Regions from separate parts of the Homo sapiens genome. Here region 1 is linked to region 2. Evidence: promoter capture Hi-C in 16 types of primary human blood cells and fetal thymus (Javierre and others, 2016). All regions are on one chromosome and are shown on one strand. The core of a region is centred on a gene start or on the middle of the fragment in contact, and the rest is flanking DNA. Distances in the headings are between cores, read along the strand shown. Region 1 has its middle 11 kb from the start of CHCHD5. Region 2 holds the start of IL37 (interleukin 37).

Region 1 (4,307 bases), core at 984-3,483, 320 kb after region 2:
TTCTCATTCCTGGTCCCGGACTGAATGAGCATCATCCTCTAAGGCCATTCCCACAACGTAGAGATGAAACACAAAATGCAAAGCTACAAGATGCATGCCATTTAAAACTTCCGCCCAGATGTGGCATATGTCACATCTTTTCACCTCTCATTGGCTAACACAAGTCTCACCAGCCAGCCCTGGCTATGGGTCAGAGAAGTACCCTTCTCCAACAGAGTATGTGATGAAGGTGGAGGTGGGAATGTTTAACATTGACACAGGGAAAGAGTTGATAACTCTTTATGTGATTATTATCTACTAAACGGTTCCACTTTTTTTTTTTTTAATTATTTTTGAGACAGAGTTTCGCTCTTGTCACCCAGGCTAGAGTACAATGGCATGATCTCGGCTCACTGCAACCTCTGCCTCCCGGGTTCAAGTGATTCTCCTGCCTCGGCCTCCCAAGTAGCTGGGATCACAGGCATGTGCCACGACGCCCAGCTAAGTTAATACAAACATGGTCATCATGTTGGACAGCCTGGTCTCGAAATCCCATTTATTTATTTATTTATTTATTTATTTATTTATTTATGAGATGGAGTCTCGTTCTGTAGCCCAGGCTGGAGTACAGTGGCATGATCTTGGCTCAATGCAACCTCTGCCTCCTGGGTTCAAGCGATTCTCCTGCCTCAGCCTCCCGAGTAGCTGGGATTATACGCATGTACCACCATGCCCAGCTAATTTTTGTATTTTTTAGTAGAGATAGGGTTTCACCATGTTGGCCAGGCTGGTCTCAAACTCCTGACCTCAAGTGATCCATTTGCCTCAGCCTCCCAAAGTGCTGGGATTACAGGCACGAGCCATCGCCCCCGGCACACAAGCCTTGCTTCAAGGTGATTCCACTTGGTATGTGATTCTCCTCCATAAACACAGGTTATAAAGTGTTCCCTCTATGAACTGAGATTCTCTCTCTGACTTTGATCTAATATAGACAAGTAGAATGAAAACATGGTCTGGCTGACACTTCCACTTCTGGCATCTCTCCAAACTGAGGTGGCCTTGATACCTAAGAAAGCCCCATGCTGATGGCAGCCCAAGGGGAGCAAGGTCAGGGAAGGCCTCTCCCTGTTAGGAAGGACATTCACATAATTTTCTTCCTGTGCACAGTGTGAGTCTCAAAAAAAAAAAAAAGACTCTCACTCTGTCGCCCACGCTGGAGTGCAGTGGCGTCGTGATCCCGGCTCACTGCAACCTCTGCCTCCTGGGCTCAAGCAATCCTGCTACCTCAGCCTCCCGCATAGCCGGGATTACAGGCACCTGCCACCATGCCCAGCTAATTTTTGTTTTTTTAGTACAGACGGGGTTTCACCATGTTGGCCAAGCTGGTCTTGAACTCCTGACCTTAAACAATCAGCCTACCTTGGCCTCCCAAAGTGCTGGGATTGCAGACGTAAGCCACCATGCCCAGCCTGAATTGATAAATTCTTGAGAGATGGGAAACGGCATTCTTTAATGAGAATTTTGGATATAGGGGACACTAATAGAAACTAACAAAGTGCTTTCATAAAATTCCCAGATGCTCAAAGAAAATTTAAAAGTCGAGTTAAGATCCATAAAATATGCATGCCCAGGCTGGGCGCGGTGGCTCACGCCTGTAATCCCAACATTTTGGGAGGCTGAGGCAGGTGGATCACGAGGTCAGGAGATTGAGACCATCCTGGCCAACATGGTGAAACCCCATCTGTACTAAAAATACAAAAATTAGCTGGGCGTGGTGGCGCGTGCCTGTGGTCCTAGCTACTCAGGAGGCTGAGGCAGGAGAATCGCTTGAACTCGGGAGGTGGAGGTTGCAGTGAGCTGAGATTGCGCCACTGCACTCCAGCCTGGGCAACAGAATGAGACTCCACCTCAAAAAAAAAAAAAAGTGCACGCCCACAACTGAGTAAAAGACAGGACTGTGATCAGGAAGTGCAGAAAATGTTAAATTTTAATGTCAGGGGTTAATTTAGAAAACATTGGCAAGTGTTTTCTCCTTTTATCATACCTTCCCCCTTTCTCATCTTTGCTGCAGATAAGGTCAAGTTCAGGGACTGCAGGACTTAAGGGGTAGGAGGTAATTCCTTCAAAACAAAAATGAAGGCAGGGTGTGGTGGCTCACGCCTGGAATCCCAGCACTTTGGGAGGCAGACGAGGGCAGATCACTTGAGGTTAGGAGTTCTAGACCAGCCTGGCCAACATATTGAAACCCCATCTCTACTAAAAATACAAAAAAATTAGCTGGGTGTGGCGGTGCATGTCTATAATCCCAGCTACTCAGGAGGTTGAGGCAGGAGTAATGCTTGAACCCGGGAGACGGTCCTCGCAGTGAGCCAAGACCATGCCATTGCACTCCAGCCTGGGCCATAGAGTGATTCTGTCTCAGAAAAAAAAAAAAAAAAAGATGAAAAGAAAACCCTTCTTTTCTCCTGCTTTGCATCTGCAATGGTGCAGGAATCCACAGATGTAACTAGACGTAACTGATGAATTGCAAGAAGTTAGAAGCCTGAAGAATGCAGCCGACATGAAAGGCTTTTATTCATACAGGTGATGTGATCTAAATGACTGACTGCATATTTAGAAAATAGGAAGAGTGTGAGGGACGGCAGCAAGGGTGAAGAATCGCCCCTCACCAGACAAGACTACAACAAAATTAACTGAGTCCTCATTTCAGCTTTAAAATAAACAAAAGGGGCTGGGCATGGTGGTTCACTCCTGTAATCCCAGCACTTTGGGAGGCCAAGGCAGGCAGATTTCTTGAGCTCAGGAGTTAGAGAACAGCCTGGACAATATGGTGAAACCCCATCTCTACTAAAAAGACAAAAATTAGCTGGGCATGCGTGCCTGTAGTCTCATCTACTCAGGAGGCTGAGGTGGGAGGATCATCTGAGCCCAGGAGGTGGAGGTGGCAGTGAGCCGAGATCACATCACTGCACTCCAGCCTGGTCAACAGAGTGAGACCCCATCTCATAAATAAATAAACAAACAAATAAATAAAATGAACAAAAGGGGAACTGTATACCCAAACTATAAAACAAAAATTAAAAAAAAATGAAAAGGGGAATTGTAAATCCAGGCTTAAGATGGAGTGAGGCCTTCTAAGAAAAAGAACAGCAACAACAATAACAATACCAAACCTTCTGCAGGGGCAGAGTGCAAAGAAATGGTGGTGAGAATGACAAGCTGGGGAAAATAATGCCTGCTGCAATTCCGGACACATTGGGACTTAGTGCTCCCTTTGAGACATCTATATGAAGGTCCATGGCAGCAGGTGGAAGCCCAAGGCAGAAGCCAGGGCTGGAGATAACCATCTGTGAACCAATGACTTATCTGATATTCTCTAGGAAGGAGATCACTGCACAGAGGAGAGAATAAGAAGAGGCCTGGTGTAAGCCTTGAAGAAAATCATTATGTCACGGCTGGGTGGGAGAAGGTGGTGGCATAGCCAGAGAGCTAGGAGGAAACCTGCAGAGTCCATGTAAAGATGAAAGAAGAGTAGAAATGTGGAGGGCCATTAAAAAATTATTCTGACAGTTGTTAAAACAGTATAGAAAATTGTACTCAAGACGACTGTCCCTGTCTCACTTCCCACTGCCCTAGTAATGCTTACTGGGATCAACCTCTAATTCTCTGTCCCAGGGTCTGTTTCTGGGGGAACCTGAGCTAAGACGGTGCATCATGAACCAAGGATTATGATTCAAGCACATATGGCACATTAACAAAAGCTGAGCATATGCCAAGCCATAAAGGCTCGACACATTTCAAAAGATTAAAATCATATAAAATGTTCCCAACCCAATTGCAATTAAGCAAGATACCTAAAAAAAAAAAACCTCCTTATGTTTAGAAATTAAGAAATACGACTCTAAACTTCTAAACAATCTGAGGTCAATGGAGAAATCAAAAGAGAGTAGAGAAGGGAAAATAAGGAACAAAAGGAGGATTGAAAGACAAAGACATCCAAGGAGCAGGACTACTATAGGCAGAGATGGCAAGAAGGAAACGTGACTATTGGCTAAGTTACAACAATGCATTCATGGGTTTTTGTTGTTATTATAGTTATTTTATCTTCTATTTTGAAGAATGATTTGTTATTTCTTCACAGTTATGGGACAAGTCAAATTATATATCTTGAAAAAAAAAAAAACAAAGTCACGCTTTGTGGCAAATTTAAGTGTATTAGAAAAGAAAGCCGGACACGGTGGCTCACGCCTGTAATCCCAGCATTTTGAGAGGCTGAGGCGGGTGGATCATGAGGTCAGGAGATCGAGACCATCCTGGCTAACATGGTG
Region 2 (4,171 bases), core at 920-3,419:
CCCAAATCTGTAGGTGAGGACGATCCTTTTATCTACTACCTGATGTGCCTGGACACTGAAGCAAAGCTTCCTTTTCCCTTCCAGAATTTCTCTTGTCTAGTTATTTGTCCAGGGAAATTTGAAAGCTCACTTACTGTGCAAGTCAGCAGGAAACAACTGGGTCTGTGCACAGCACCTAGCAAAGTTCTGCTCTAGGAATTACACTTTGGCCCTGAGGTAGATTTCTACAAGAACCTTACCTTCTAAGCAGCACTGGGGTTCATCTTTTTCCCAGTCCTCAGAGCCCATTTTCACTCCTGAGTTCTCCCCCACAAAGGACATTTTCAACGTTGAGTTTATTACTCAACAGAAAATGGAATGAAGTCCAAGACCTAAGGAGATAGAAAGGGGACCAGTTATGGCATCTTCTCACCCCAGGACACCTTGCTGCATGTCTCTAGTGCTGAACAGACCACTGGCCTTGCTCTGTAGTTTGAAATGCTCGCTGCAACCAGAAAGGCACCAAGGGGCCAGACCATGCTCTCCTGTCTATCACGCCTTCAAAGCAGAATTTCCCAAACCTTGAGTCACAGTGCTAACACACGGGGTGCAATAGCATTTTTGTGGATCTTGGCATTTTACAAAAATAAAATAAAAAAGTTAAAAGTGCATTGCTCTAGTCTTGGGGCTGGCACACTATGGCCTTTGGCCAAATCCGGTCCCTGACTGTTTTTTTAAATAAAGTTTTATTGAAACACAGCCATGCTCTTGTTTACATATTGTCTCTGGCTGCTTCGAGGCTACAATAGCATGGTTAACTAGTTGAGAGATCATCTGGCAAGCAAAGCCTAAAATACTTACCATCTGACACCTTCTATAGAAGTTTGCTGAGTCTCTGCAGTAGCCTAATCTTTGCCTAACAAAAAGCAGTTGCTCTGCAACCTCTTTTCATGAAAACCTAAGCCACCAAATGTCCCAGGAGGCTCAATCCCTAATATCTTAGGGTAGGATTGACTCACGTGACTTGCTTCATTGGGAGGGGTTGGAGGAGATATATTTATATATATAAATTCTGCACACCCTATCTCAGTTGACCGAGAGCTTTCAACATCAGCCCAGGCCAACATAGGACAGAAGTGGAGCAAAAATTGGTATTCCCATCTTACCGATAAAAAATCAAAAGTTAAGTGATTTGTTCAGAATCATATCACTTCTAAGATTGCAGAGATAGGCAGTTTGTGTACAAATCCAATCCTTTGAGAAAGGTTTAGGAGTGAGACAAAGGGAACTAAATTGTTCATGCAAAAAATAAAAATGACAAGGAAGGGCTTCAGGACTCAACAATAAGGACGGTGAGCAGGAGCAGGTGGGTAGAGCTGATGGGTCTTTAGGAACAGGGATATCTGCTATTTGATTTTAACCTGTTTGTGGTTTGGCAGTATCCCTGAATACATGAAGCACAACTGCCTTTGTCATGTTGGGGTAAATCAAAGGACACAAAAAATTGGAGGCGCTTGACAGAGAATTTGGCAGCCAGAACATCAGAGCAAGAGATGTCTGGCAGAAACGTAGGTATCCAAAGACATATAAAGATACTGTGGTGCTGCTGAAGGACAGAAGGATGCTCACAGGCTGGAGGACCTGGGGCCATCCCTCGGGGGTACTCATGAAATCTGCTGCCTGTATTAAGATAAATGCAGGGAGCTTTCACAGAATTCCCTAAAGAAGCAGTGCATCTGGCCATCTGAAGTCCATCTCTTTGCACTCAAAATCTGTTCCCAAGGACCAATATTTTCTAGACTCTAAAGTCAGTCTTCTGAGCCTTCAGAGAAGGGACTAGCATTTCCAGGGTTGGTGGATTTCCTAAGCTAGTGTCTGCCTGGCCCTCCAGCAATGCCCTACTTGTTAGTGGAAGCCCTCCTGGGAGAGAGCAGGCTGCTACTGGGGCTGAGAGCAAGGTGTTCTGGGCAGGTCTCAGAGATCATATTTAGAAATTCAGATGTGCTTCCAGTGGGGATAAAAAGCAAGGGTCTAGATGGCCAGATGCTACTCTACTTCCCCATCCATCCTGTTGGCCTTGAAAGCCAGTGCAGGAGGACCACCTACCTGGGCCAGGGATCCTCGTGGTCTGTGGCTCTGTCTTGGACTCCTGGAGCTCTGTTTGCCTTCAGTTCTCAGGATCCTTTACTTGAAGGAGCTAGGTCTGGTACTCATTTGTAATCAACAGTTTGTGAGTGGTTATGCAAATACAACACAAGTATTCCTTTGGCCAATAATAAATAGCATCCTCAGTTATCAGTGATCACTCATTTCCTGCTATTTTCCATGCCAACGGTATAAACAAATTCCTGTGGGGGTAGTGCCACTCTGCTAAGGACTGTGCCACACCTATTCAACACATTTCAAGGTACTTGTGATAGATCAGGTGGCTTCCAGTCCAGTCCAATAATACAGGTATAGAAAACAGAGGAGAGTGAAGGAAAGAGGGGACACAGGGTTTAGATCAGCCAATGAGCCTGGGAGGTTCAAGGAAGCCCTTGTTCTCATGATGGTTCTTTGCCCCAATTCCAGAGTTCATGCAAGTGGAGTCCCCATGTCCCAGAGAAAAATGTCCTCTTTTCATGTTCCCTTCCAGGTACACTCCGGGATGCACTATACCTCTTCTATGTCCCCTCTTCTTCAAAGGTGACATGCAAAAGGACCTTCCTTGATCAAGCCCTCCAAGGACTAGCTTCCTTCTACAGCCCATTAGCTATTTATCTGCACTTCCTTGCATTTTTCCATCACATTTGCCCTTGTCAGTTACTGTGTATGGCTATGTTTTACAACACCACACACAGCTGCTCAGTATGAGGGGAAATCCACATAACCAATTAAGGTAATAGCTTCTGGACCACCACCAGCAGCATGTCAATAACACAGGAACAACAGGCCAGCACAATAGTCAACCACTGTGCTCTCACTGTGCCAGGTCTGGGCTCAGCCCATTTATTTATTTTTCTCCAACCAAATCCTTTGATGACCCTGGGGGTAAATACCATCCTTCCTGTTTTACAGACAAAAGGTGGTGCAGTTTAGAGAGGATGGACAATTTACCCAAGATCACATCCTTAATTACTGGAAGAACTATAACCCAGGCCTTTCTGAGCATGCTGCAGCCTCATCTCTTAAACTTCACCGAAGACTGTGGTCTCATCCTCTAGCCTTTCTTCACATACGCATTTATATAACATACAAATATAGGAGTGTGTCTGACAAATTATTTTGTAAGATACATTTCCTACTTAATGTATCTTGCCTTTTCTACTCAATATGATATCTCAAACATCGTTCCATTTCATCAATACTTTTCTACAATAGTGTATCTAATTACTGCAAGGTATTCCATTATTTGTCTAAAGACCTGGAAAAATGTTATTCCCTTGATGGCTAGAATACAAATCCCTGATTTCTGTTAAATTCCATAAGGAGACACATATCTTTAGAGAACTTCTTGATAAACCTCTTGGGATGGGATGAGATTGTGAAGGAAAAGAGGAAGTAAAAATTTTAAAAAGTCAAAACAAACACTAACTTATCTTCTAAGAAGGTGGTTGGGGTAACTGTAGGCACTTCTGTGGTGCTCACTTCTGGAATGAATGAGGATGTGAGTGTGGGGGCAGCAGGCCATTGCTCTCAGGACAGGGAAGATGGAGATGCAGGGAGGGTGCCATGTTGAGGCAGTTGCAATAGAGACTTGTAGAGATTCAACCAAGTGGTTCCGGAAAGGAAGGGAAATGAGAGAGAAGAGTTTGTCTTTAATAGGGGGTGCTACCTAGTGTAGTATGGAGTATTCATAAACTCTTGCCTTTATTGCCCCATGTAAAACCTCAATAAGTTCGATTATCTGTACCAATACTGATATACAAGGGACACTGTTTATAGGAGGTTGAAGCTCGAGAGAATAAGGGGCAGCTAACTTGTATGTCACATATGGACAGATCATAGTCTAACTAATCCTCAATTTTGAACATCTGAGTTATTTTCACTTTTACATTATTATATGTATGAGATATATATATATATACACACACATATGCATACATAATTCTGTGCTTAATATGCTTGTCCAAATCTTTGCATATATCATTGATTACTCCACTAGGATAAATTCCTACATGTGTAAATGCTAGACCAAAGGACATACATATTT

What was found. Contacts are between HindIII fragments. The CHiCAGO score rates a contact against its expected background, and 5 or more counts as called.
Region 1: a fragment that was not itself captured here is called in contact with the fragment with the promoter of IL37 in region 2 in 5 of 17 cell types (M2 macrophages, M0 macrophages, M1 macrophages and 2 more); the score reaches 9.6 in M2 macrophages.

Annotation. Positions count from the first base shown.
Region 1 is chr2:112,593,317-112,597,623 of GRCh38, reverse strand. No RefSeq gene overlaps it. Among named protein-coding and RNA genes, the nearest start is that of CHCHD5, 11 kb to the right of the region's middle. The HindIII fragment of the contact is 7,050 bases long and covers 1-4,307 here.
Region 2 is chr2:112,909,163-112,913,333 of GRCh38, reverse strand. IL37 (interleukin 37) reads right to left here and starts at 2,169. Exons shown (of 6, transcript NM_014439.4): 1 at 2,086-2,169; 2 at 240-371. The coding sequence starts at 321. The HindIII fragment of the contact is 4,653 bases long and covers 69-4,171 here.